Regions from separate parts of the Homo sapiens genome. Here all the other regions are linked to region 2. Evidence: promoter capture Hi-C in 16 types of primary human blood cells and fetal thymus (Javierre and others, 2016). All regions are on one chromosome and are shown on one strand. Each heading gives the region's core, a stretch centred on a gene start or on the middle of the fragment in contact. The rest is flanking DNA. Distances are from core to core; before and after follow the strand shown.

Evidence for each region. Contacts are between HindIII fragments. The CHiCAGO score rates a contact against its expected background, and 5 or more counts as called.
Region 1: a contact is called between a fragment that was not itself captured here and the fragment with the promoter of CYB5A in region 2, in 3 of 17 cell types (total CD8 T cells, naive CD8 T cells and fetal thymus). The highest score is 6.1, in total CD8 T cells.
Region 3: a contact is called between a fragment that was not itself captured here and the fragment with the promoter of CYB5A in region 2, in 6 of 17 cell types (total CD8 T cells, naive CD8 T cells, naive CD4 T cells and 3 more). The highest score is 9.1, in total CD8 T cells.

The regions. Positions count from the first base shown.
Region 1 is chr18:74,150,007-74,153,791 of GRCh38, reverse strand. All of the region lies in intron 1 of TIMM21 (translocase of inner mitochondrial membrane 21), which reads right to left. Among named protein-coding and RNA genes, the nearest start is that of TIMM21, 3.4 kb to the right of the region's middle. RefSeq lists an enhancer at 2,076-3,275. The HindIII fragment of the contact is 5,042 bases long and covers 1-3,785 here.
Region 2 is chr18:74,289,920-74,293,603 of GRCh38, reverse strand. It overlaps CYB5A (cytochrome b5 type A), which reads left to right and starts at 1,641. Exons shown (of 5, transcript NM_148923.4): 1 at 1,641-1,857. The coding sequence starts at 1,729. RefSeq lists enhancers at 553-722, 1,082-1,141, 1,431-1,600, 1,680-1,849, 2,455-3,062. The HindIII fragment of the contact is 14,442 bases long and covers 1-3,684 here.
Region 3 is chr18:74,500,560-74,504,596 of GRCh38, reverse strand. CNDP2 (carnosine dipeptidase 2) reads right to left here. Exons shown (of 12, transcript NM_018235.3): 3 at 3,125-3,268. Among named protein-coding and RNA genes, the nearest start is that of CNDP2, 6.2 kb to the right of the region's middle. The HindIII fragment of the contact is 998 bases long and covers 1,821-2,818 here.

The DNA.
Region 1 (3,785 bases), core at 1,267-3,766, 140 kb after region 2:
TATGTTTATAAACAACATTGTTTAAAAGAAGTATTTAGCTAATACAACGCTTGTTTAAAAGTAGTCTTTAGCGTATCACAATCCTTCAAGTTTTCAGCAAGGTTCCCAACTTAGAAGACATTATTCAAATAATAAAAAGACCTCATCTGCCAAAATCTGTGTAATTCATGGGACTGACTCAAACAATTGTCACAAATCCAATTTCCCTTCCAAGGTTCAGGAGTTGGGGCCTACAATGACGACATCTCATTCCACTCTCAGTGTCACAAAATACATTTCAATAAATATTACCTGCCAGTTATGTATCAACTCCCAGGTTGAGAATACAATAACAACTAACTAGTTCTAGTAAGTATCCTTATTTGTCCTTGTTACCCAAACCGGGTCATTGGCCCCAACACCCTGGACTTCTGACTGTCCCTTCCAACAATTCATTCCTACCTTGCTTAGGGTATCTGACAGGTCTTTTCCATTTATTTGATAAACAACAGCTCCTGTATATCTGTTATATATAAAGCCCTGTGCTAAATATTCTCCATATTCTACACACTTGAAAAATTTCTGTTTGTTACTTTATAGCTGTCTCCAATGGAAGCTGCTCACTGTCTAACTTTCTGAACCCTATCAGACCTAATACTTGTATGCAAAAAACCCTCATGCCATTTATTTGCTTCCACAATTCTCTACCCCTCCTATAGTGGGTGCTGTGGTATGGGGCTCCCAGCTGCAGGGAGCACTGGTAGCGGACAGTTGTCAGCTGAGCTCCTCTCTGGGCATTCCATCATAAGAGAGCTTCCTCACTTAGGTCACGGCACTTCCCTGGACCAGCCCATATTCAATGCCTGGTTGATGCAGAAGCATAAGACTCAGCCCCCATATTAGGTAGGACAGTGACTGGCCAGCTCAGCTCCAGAAGTCCCCAGAGCAGCAGCTGAGGCCCCAACTGCAAATGCACTTCGGCCTCTCCCTCTGCCCAGTCCTGCTTCCCTCATCCCTCAAGACGTATTCTGAGAGCACTCCCTGATAAACCTTACGCAAATCCCACTTCCCTGGGAAGCCAACCTACAACGGGTGCTACCAGGAGTGGTAAGCAGCTCTCAATTTGGATTTTGGAGCTGGCTTGCCGGCCACTGGCTGGCAATGAGGACCCTGTCCCTGGTGGTAGGGGGGTACTGACAGCACCTGTCATAGAGCTGTAGTGCAGCTGATGCAGCTCTCACCAATGGGGACCTGGGATGGAATGCTGGCGGAAGGGAATGTACTGGCTGATGTGTTATTCTGGGAGTTTAGGAGGAATCAGCAATTTTAAGGACTTATATCAGACGGCTGTGGCTGGGGCCATGGAGAGGGATGGTGAGATGAAGTGTGTAACTAATCACCAGTGAAGGTGAGTGCCAAGGGCAGGAGCCTCCTCCCCGGCAGAACAAGACTCAAATTGCACCCAGAGGATAGAAAATGCGTGGGTGAGGTCTGGGGCGGAAGGGATTCAGGGAGTTTGGCATTTCAAGCCCATGAGACCTCCCACACCAAGGTCAGGGTCCTGATTTGGGAGGAAAGGCAACCTAAAGCTGGGTAGGGGGCCCTTGAGGTCAATGTTGTAAAAAATCTTGAATCCCAATTCTCCTGACCCCTCTAGCCCTGAAGCAGCAGCTCAGTGTCTGGTAAAGGTTGGCACTTCCTCCACCTTGGAAACTGGGCGAGGGGTGGGTGGGGGTTTCTGCCTAGCAAGATACGTGCTGCTCTCAGGAGGGCTCTCCACCTCCCCTCCTGGCCAAGTTACAACACGACTGGGCATGAGAAGGGTGAGAAGAACAATACTCGGAAGGAGCTGGAGGTCCCCCCGGGGGGGGGGGGAACATAGACACCACTGCTTCTTAAGGGTGGTGTGTCAAGGGCACAGAACACAAAACCAGCTGAGAGTTGATCAGCATGGGGCACGCTCCTGTGATGAATTTAGCAACCAGGCAAGCACCCTGGGAACTGATATGCAGCTGGCTAGGTCTGCTCCTGGAAACTTCGAGACAGTGATGGTCCACATTAAGTAAAAGTGACAGAACAGCCATGGCAAACTGGACGAAAGGCTCAACAGCCTCCAAGAATGGGGATGCTACCATAGATATAAGATATAAAGCCCGAAAACCCACCAGCTGACTATGTTCTTAGGAGGGACAGGAGGACACTGTGTACCAAAGCCACAAGGAAGCCACAGTTACATCTTTATAGAGCAGGATGCCCTGACAGAAATGGAGATGAAAGAATTATGAAGCAGAGACCAGGCTGGGGTGTTAAACAGAAGCCAAGGTGGGTGCAACCATCATAACTAATGGCAAGGCTGGAGTGGCAGTCGGGAGTGTCTGACCTACAGAAAGCAACAGAGTTGATGACTAGAACACAGTGTTTCCAAAGGGAAGACACAAGGGCAGCGGACAAGGCTACTTCTGAATTACACAGTCATGAGAAATTAACTACAGATGATTCCTGAGGCTGAAGGCAGCTGCTCTAATGCAAAGTCCTGAACATTGCCCCAGTTTCTGGACCTGAACCAGTTTTCAGACCTGGAACGCATTTACTGAAGGAAAGCGTATGTAACTGACTCCCCCCGTCCTTCACCAAAAGGACCTACAGTTATCAACTTGGACATAGTCTGTGCTGACAGTGATACCCAAGGACCCAAAGAGTCATGATGACCCCCTGACCGCCCTCCATCACCGGATGTAAGAAGCTCACAGGTGGGTCCAGGGACTTACCTGGCAATAATTTCTGTGATTTCCAAATGTATAAATCAAGGGGATGTACTGAGTAACTGGCAACAATAACTCCCACTTTAGTTCCTTTGGAAGTGGGTTAAGAGCCATCGCAGTGGGAAAAGTCAAATGGAAGCCCCTGAAGCTGCCCTTTCGGTGACCAAGATAGGAAATTAAAAATGATATCACATCTATGGGGAATGGCAGAGTATTCTTAGAGACCTTAGATACAGGCATGGCGATCCCCATCACGGTCCCTTGTAATTTACCAGTCTTCCTTTACAAAACACAAATAGGTGCTGGAGAATGACAGTGGTTAACTGCAAACTCAACCAAGTGGCAGCCGGGGTACACATGTAATACCACAAATGGTAACTTTACAGGGGAATGCATTAACACAATCTCATGGTATTGGCCATTGCTTTGAAGAACGCCTTCTATTCAGAAGCAGCAGCAGTAGTCTGTAGTAACATGAAACAGATAATAACAGTGTATGTTTATGATCCTGCCCAGGATTTGCTAATTCTCTCACCCTCTATCATAACAGTCTTAAGGGACTGAAACCTTCTGGACCTGGGCTGTCTAATACAGTAGCCACTTGCCACTCATGGCTATTTCAGTTCAATTTTAAATTAATTAAAATTAAATCAATTCAGTTCTTCAGTCACAAGTTTTAGCAACATTTCAAGTGCTCAAAATAGCTACAAGTGGCCAGGAACTACCCAAATGGACAGCACAGATATAGGACATTTCTATGCAGAAAGTTTTATTTGAATAATGCTGTTCTGGACATTCAGGAGAATATCACATTTGTCTACTATATTTATGCCATCATGTTAGAGCCCATAAGTAACAAGTGGCAAGTGTGTTAGAAGGCTTGGTCAGAGAAGCTGCAAGTGTGAGAGGTGGGTCCAACAAAGATGCAGAGGCTCATCAACACATGAGCCGACCTCGTGGGGCTACACTGGGGCGTGCCAAGACATGCCCTCCCAAGTAAAAGACAATTGTACCCTATACCTCCTACCACAATGCTTCATAGGC
Region 2 (3,684 bases), core at 392-2,891:
AGACACCTCTGAAATGTGGGTGAATAATCAGGCAGGCATCCCTGCAGTGATTAAACACCAAGGGAAGACTGTCTTCTCGAGTCCGTGACCAGTGCCGGAGTTTTGGGTTCACGGATAAAACACATCTCCTCTGTCTCTATCAGAAAAGGAAAGGAACTGAAATTAAGGGAAGGGATAGATTGAAGGGTGGTGCCAAAATTGAAAGGAGAAAGAGGTTGAGAGATAGTGAGAGAGGTTGGAGAAGAGAGTAAAAAGAAGCTGCTTACCCAATTTAAAATTGGTGAGATGTTCCTGGAGCTGGTTGGTCTGAGGACCCGAGGTTGTAGGTGGATCTTTCTCACAGAGCAAAGAGCAGGAGGACAGGTGACTGTCTTATCAGTTAAGGCAGGAACCGGCCATTTTCACTTCTTTTGTGATTCTTCAGTTGCTTCAGCATTTTCACTTCTTTTGTGATTCTTCAGTTGCTTCAGGCCATCTGGATGTATATGTGCAGGCTTGGGCTCAGAGGCCTGACATGCGTGTGTTTTGTGTTTTTCTGGATAGGCATGCATTCCTATGGAGGAGGTAAGCAGGGGGAAGGGAGCTCACATTCATCAGACACCTAGTATGTGTAGGAACCTTCTGCATCCCTGGAAGGATGGATGACCCCACATGTGAAACCTCTCGTGTGGTTCTTTTTGGAATTAACTACCATTGCTGAAAAGGGCCTACATAAAATATCAAATTTTAACATGCTGGAATTTTTCTTTATTTTTTTTCTCCTTCAAACATTTGTAGCTCTTTATATGTGGTATTTCCTCTGTGTCAGAAGGGAAAGAGGGTGCCCTTTGGGGAAGTTCTCTTCCAGACTCCTAGAAGAGAATCTGATTTACCTTAAATGCACAAACAAGGCCTTGCCATGTCACTGGCCAACCGCAGACAAACTACTTCAGTCACAGAAATAATTTGGACACTTTTGCTTTTTAAGGAAAAGATGATTTCCCTGGATTTTTTTCCTGTGAGGACGAGGCATTCCAAAACCCCAGCGGGGTCAGGCACAGTTCGCCAACTTTATGTTTTGGGGGGCAGCGCATTTGCTTCCCGAAGTGAGTTGCGAAACCGTTTTCTAGCGCGCACGGGGCTTTCATCTCTTCCGTGCATGCGAACGGCTTTCCGAGATGCCCCCTTTATGGGCTTGGCCATCGCTACTTTTGTTACAAATTAACGTCTGGGACTCGGACTGCTGCCAATAGGAAACTCCCGCGATTCGCTGCCTAGTTCGCCGCCCTCACAAGACTGGACTCTGCACAGGCCATCCATGCCCGCTGGTGCACCTCGCTCTCTCGCACGCTTAACCCGCGGGGACGCCCCCGACCTCCCACCTCAGCCCTCGCCACAGTTAGTCCCGCCCTTCCGCGCAGACTCCGTGGAGTCCTGTCACGCTCTCCGCGCGCTGCGGCAGCCGGGAGATTGTGAAGGGCACCTCCGGCAGCCAATTAACACCCGCATACTGGGCGGGACCACGCTTGGGCAGGCGGAGGGGGTCGACCGAAGGCGGGGACTTTTGAGTGACAAGGATGATGGCCAACCGTCGGAGGCCCTTCTACTGCGCCCCGCCCCTGAGCCGGCCGCCCAGCCCCCAGTGGGGTTCCCGGCGCGGGGAATGTCCCGGGTGGAGCTGGCTGAGTCGCGCGCTCTGCTCCACCCGACGGGGCTGTGTGTGCTGGGCCTGGCTCGCGGCGAACCGAGATGGCAGAGCAGTCGGACGAGGCCGTGAAGTACTACACCCTAGAGGAGATTCAGAAGCACAACCACAGCAAGAGCACCTGGCTGATCCTGCACCACAAGGTGTACGATTTGACCAAATTTCTGGAAGAGGTGAGTTGGGGATGAGCGGCTTGGGGCGCAGGGAGCGTGGGCCGGGTTTGGGGGTTCACTGGCATGACCTGTCTTTCGCGGCCCGGAGTCCGCATACCTACGCCTAGGCGCGCCCCCCGAGTTCGCTCACCTGCGCGTGTACGCCTGGGCGCGCTTCCGAGTCCGCACACCTGCGCGTGCAAGCCTGGGCGCCCCCCACCGCCCCAAGTCCGCACACCTGCGCGCTCACACCTGGGAGCGCTCCCCGAGTCCGCACACCTGCTAGTGTACACCTGGGCGCTCTCCTCGAGTCCGCACACCTGCGCGTGCACACCTGGGGAGCGCTCCCTGAGTCCGCACACCTGCGCGTGTACACCTGGGAGCGCTCCCCGAATCCGTACACCTGCGCGTGCACACCTGGGAGCGCCCTGCGCGGCGGCATCCTCGCTAGGTGGTGCTGGAGCAGCCTTCCGGGGATAGCGCGCAGCCATGCGGGGGATTTAAATGATCCCTTTCTCCCTTGAGTTTGAATAGAAGGGTGTCCTTCCAGGACCGGCGGCATTCCCGCAGTGGCCGGCTGGAGACCACCCACCCCGAGAGCTGCGGATCCCGCCGGAGGGGACCCCAAGTGCGGAGGTCGGGTGTGGTCCGGGCCTGCGCTTCCCGCGGCAGCCACTGGCCGACCTTGCGGTCCACACCCACTCGCGTTCGCGTTCACCTGGAAGAGGCTCGGTGTTAATTAACCTTTTCCAGTCACGCCTTGGCAGCCAGGTGCCGTGCTTGACTCCTGAGACCGCGGTGTGTGGCTGGAGCAAGAACACAGAGGCCAGGCAGAGCAGCGGACGTTCTGCGTGGGACTCGCCCCTAACAGCTTTGGAAGGTGTAATAGGAAACGTTGGTTAACTTGAAGACATTCCTTTGATAAGATTCTTTGCATTCGGTTATAATTTTTGCCGCACACGCTAAGGGGCGCTTTTGGTGATTGTCTTAGATCCTCTGGAAGTGTTTTACTACTTTTGGGGGAGTCTCAATCATAAATCTTAACGCATGCTCACGCCCCCTCCCAATAATGAGAAGGTTTAGTGATGGGAATTTTTTACATAGTCGGGGAGCAGGGGACAAAAATAGATGCCTGGTCTGAGCTGGATCACAGTTTATATCAGAGGACTTTGTTTTTGCAGAAAATGTTAAAATCAAAAGGCCTGTTTTAAAAAATGAGGCTGGGCCAAGCACGGTGGCTCACACATGTAATCCCAGCACTTTGGGAGGCTGAGGCGGGTGGATCACTTGAGTCTAGGAGTTCGAGACCAGCTTGACCAACATGGCGAAACCCCATCTCTAACCAAAATACCAAAATTAGCCAGGCCTGGCGGGGCACGCCTGTAGTCCCAGCTACTCGGGAGGCTGAGACAGGAGAATCCCTTAAACCTGGGAGGCAGAGGTTGCAGTGAGCCGAAATCGCACCACTTTGCTCCAGCCTGGGGGACAGAGTGAGACTCTGTCTCTAAATAAATAAATAAAATTAAATAATAAGGCTGGAGTTGATGTTTATTGGTAAGGTATTTCACTCTGGAGCAGTGCCCGAAGATAAAGTCATGTTACCATTTAGTAAGGAGGGGTTTATGTTGGGAAATCAGAGCTGACCTGTCCTCTCCCTCCTGCCCGGCTGCAGATCTTGTCATATAACATCAATTCTCATTAACTCTAAATGTGGAATTTTAAGATACAGTGTGTGCTTTGTCTATTTGTGCTTATAGAAGAAGTAGCATAAGAGAATATTAGGATATTTTATATTATGAAGCATTTTCTTCTTTTCTTGTCTTCTCCTAAAGCGAGTTTTTTCAACCC
Region 3 (4,037 bases), core at 1,070-3,569, 210 kb before region 2:
AAATGAGCAGTCACTGAAATGACAACTGGATCAGGACAGTGCTGGTGATAGGCTGAGAAAAGTGTCCCTTCCAAACTGCAGGGCCTCCAGCTCTAAGTGTACAAGCACTTTACGAAACTGGGCAGGTGGCTGGGATTCTTATGGGATCCAGGATTTGTGTTCCCAGTAATTTAAGTAACCCCTGCAACCTGAAGGCTGCTAGTGTGCTGCGTGTGGCCTGACGCCCCTCATTTGTCCCAGCGGCAGTGTGGCTGCGTGTGCAGTGTATGGCCTGACGCCCCTCATTTGTCCCAGTGGCAGTGTGGCTGCGTGTGCAGTGTATGGCCTGACGCCCATCATTTGTCCCAGCGGCACTGTGGCTGCGTGTGTGGCGTGTGGCCTGACGCCCCTCATTTGTCCCAGTGGCAGTGTGGCTGCGTGTGCAGTGTATGGCCTGACGCCCCTCATTTGTCCCAGCGGCAGTGTGGCTGCGTGTGTGGCGTGTGGCCTGACGCCCCTCATTTGTCCCAGCGGCACTGTGGCTGCGTGTGCAGTGTATGGCCTGACGCCCATCATTTGTCCCAGCAGCAGTGTGGCTGCGTGTGCAGTGTATGGCCTGACGCCCCTCATTTGTCCCAGCGGCAGTGTGGCTGCGTGTGCAGTGTATGGCCTGACGCCCCTCATTTGTCCCAGCGGCAGTGTGGCTGCGTGTGTGGCGTGTGGCCTGACGCCCCTCATTTGTCCCAGCGGCAGTGTGGCTGCGTGTGTGGCGTGTGGCCTGACGCCCCTCATTTGTCCCAGCGGCACTGTGGCTGCGTGTGCAGTGTATGGCCTGACGCCCCTCATTTGTCCCAGCGTCACTGTGGCTGTATCTGTGCCTCAGTTCTCACCAGGACAGCCTGTACCCACCAGGGACAAAGAATTGTGGCTGAAATCTCTCTGCTCTGGTCCCAGGGAACCCATGGCTTTGGCAGTCCCAGCTGGCCCTCAGCTTGCCTGAGCAGAAAAATGATTTTCAAATGACCACAGATTTTCTCTACATAAATTCCTGTTCAATAGGGCTCCTCTGAAATACTTAGGCATTTTCTGAGAAACTGCTTTGGCCCACAGGTAAAATTGTTCTGAAACGCCCAACATCACCTTTCCTTCATCAGCTGAAAATACTCTGACTTCTGCACTGACACAGGAAAACACCCACTTCCACCTTCACCCCTGCATCAAGTCATCATCACTCTGAAAAACAGAACACCACTGCCACATGGACATGCGGGAAGAGAACAGAAGATGTGTGGTCACCCCACACCGCAAGCATCTCTGCAGAAGATTCCACCAGTGATGAAATATTTCAATTCCTTGATAAAAATCAGTGTTATGTAATTCAAAATAGTATAACAGTAATTTAGTTTTTTATGAAAGGCCCTTTCTTAAGAATTGCACAGCAATGTCAGTGATCAACGAAGTAAATATAACTATTGTAATGAAACAACTCCTAAAAATGATTTACCTCACCTAGATTTTTCAATATATTAGGAAAAAAAAAAAAACGAAAGGGAGCAAGGTGAGTCTGACCCTAAAAAGAAACAACATGAAGAAACTTGGTTTAGTCTCCCAAAGATGGGGGGAAAATTGGTGGGAAGCTATAATATACCCTAAGTCAATTATTAAATTTGTTTTCAGAAGAAAACCTCAAATGAATAGCACTGCCTGGGGAATCAGGAGGCCTGGGCATGAACCTGCTCTGCATGAGCCTCCTGTGGGCTCCCAGTGGACAGAGCTGCCTGGCCTCCACTCTCTCCCTCTGATGAAACGAATGCGCTGAACTGAATGGCCACACTCAAGCTTCTAGTGCTGTGATTTCAGATTGACACCCAAATCATCAGGCCAAAGAACCGAGATAAGCCATAGCTTATCATTAGATCAAAGAATATAAAAGAATATTACAAACTTTGAAAATATATGGCATGAAACATGCAATTAACATAAGGCTGAAATCATTTGAAATAAACTAGTGAAATAACATACAGTAAGAGGCCGGGTATGGTGGCGTGACAATTTGGGATGCCAAGGCAGGTAAATCGCTTGAGACTAGAAGTTTGAGACCAGCCTGGAAACATGGTGAAACCCCATCCCGACAAAAAAAAAAACCAAAAAGACAAAAAAAACACACATATATATACACACACACAGTAAGTCCTCACTCAACTTCATGGATAGGCTTTTAGAAACTGTGACTTTAAGTGAACAAAACTACCTTATTCAAGGACCTGTTGTTGTATGTTGTCTTGCTTAAAGTTGCAGTTTCTAAGAACCTATGGATGACGTGAGTACTTACTGTACCACAAAGTGAGACTGTTCATTTAGCAAGAAAACAAACCATTCTCACCTGTCAGAATCCTGCACTGAAAAACAACAGACCCCCACACAAAATATCTCTTATGAAAAAGTGGCTCACACCTGTAATCCTAGCATTTTGGGAGGCTGAGGCAGGCGGATCACCTGAGGTCAGGAGTTCGAGACCAGCCTGGCCAACATGGCAAAACCCCGTCTCTACAAAAAATATAAAAATTAGCTGGGTGTAGTGGCGCTCGCCCAGCTACTCAGGAGGCTGAAGCAGGAGAATCGCTTGAACCCGGGAGGCGGAGGTTGCAGTGGGCCGAGATCACGCCACTGCACTCCAGCCTGGGCGACAGAGGGAGACTCTGTCTCAAAAAAATAAAAAAAATAAAAAAATAAGGCTCAAGGACGCAGCACTGTGTGTGAGGGGGAGCCGGGGGTTGGGGGGAGTCTTTATAATTTTTAAATGGACTTGAATAAAGTGTAACTTCCTAGTTTGAAAGCTTATGGATTGCTGGGAGGGGAATCTCAGCCATTCTCTCAGAATGACTGTTACATTAACTTAGTCCTGAGTAACTGTCAGCAGTTCTCCTTCCTGGAGAAAAATGCTGAGTGCCACAAAACCTTTGCCCCAATCCAACTGAAGCAGTCACGTACAGAACTTACCATCCAAATCAGGCCCTTCCTTTTTTGTTTTAAAGGTGAGTGGGGTATGTGAAGCAAAAGATCTTTTAAGAACTTGTGGCGTCTTGTCAACCCCTCAGGCAGAATCTGTCTACGGTCCTGCAATGCAAAGAATGTTGCCTCCTACCTTTTGTTTTCCGATATCCACCAGTTCCACAGAGCCCCCCAACTGCTTAACATCTGCAGCAGCAACTTCCATCATCCTCCTGATTTCGCCTCTCTTCTCCGGCCACGCAGACACACTCTGGATAGCCACCCATTTTGCGAGTTTCTGTTTGTGGACAAGAAGCAACGAGGGATTCTGAAAAGGTGTCCTTGAGGGAGAAGAGGCTCCCGTAACGTTGCCACATTCCAGGCTCACCCTCTGTGGCTGCTGCAGTTGAACAGGCTGATTGGAAATAGGACAGACCCATCACGTGTGCTTTGGGTTAAAGATTTTAAAAACTGTTTGTACTGAGGGAAGAGAGAGACCCTCTCATATTGTTTTACACTCAGTACCTGTTTAAAAACAAACAAAAAAAAAACAAGGAAGTGAAATCAAAGACAGGCAGCCCGGCGCCAGGCCCAAAACCGGACCCGGGCCTGCCTGGCCTAAACCTAGTAGTTAAAAATCAACTCATGACTTAAAAACCGATGTTATTCATAGATTCCAGACATTGTATAAAAGAACACTGTGAAATTCCCTGCCCTGTTCTGTTTCTCTCTGACCACCGGTGCATACAGCCCCTGTCACGTACTGCCTGCTTGCTCAAATCAATCACGACCCTTTCATGTGAAATCTTTAGTGCTGTGAGCCCTTAAAAGGGACAGAAATTGTGCACTCAGGGAGCTCGGATTTTAAGGCAGTAGCTTGCCGATGCTCCCAGCTGAATAAAGCCCTTCCTTCTACAACTCGGTGTCTGAGAGGTTTTGTCTGTGGCTTGTCCTGCTACAGTACTAACCCTGTACCAAGAACTAGAGTACAAAAGAAAAATGTCACATGGTTTATTTTTAACAATTAAGGAGGAAGTAAATGTAAAATGTACCAGGTTCCGTAAATA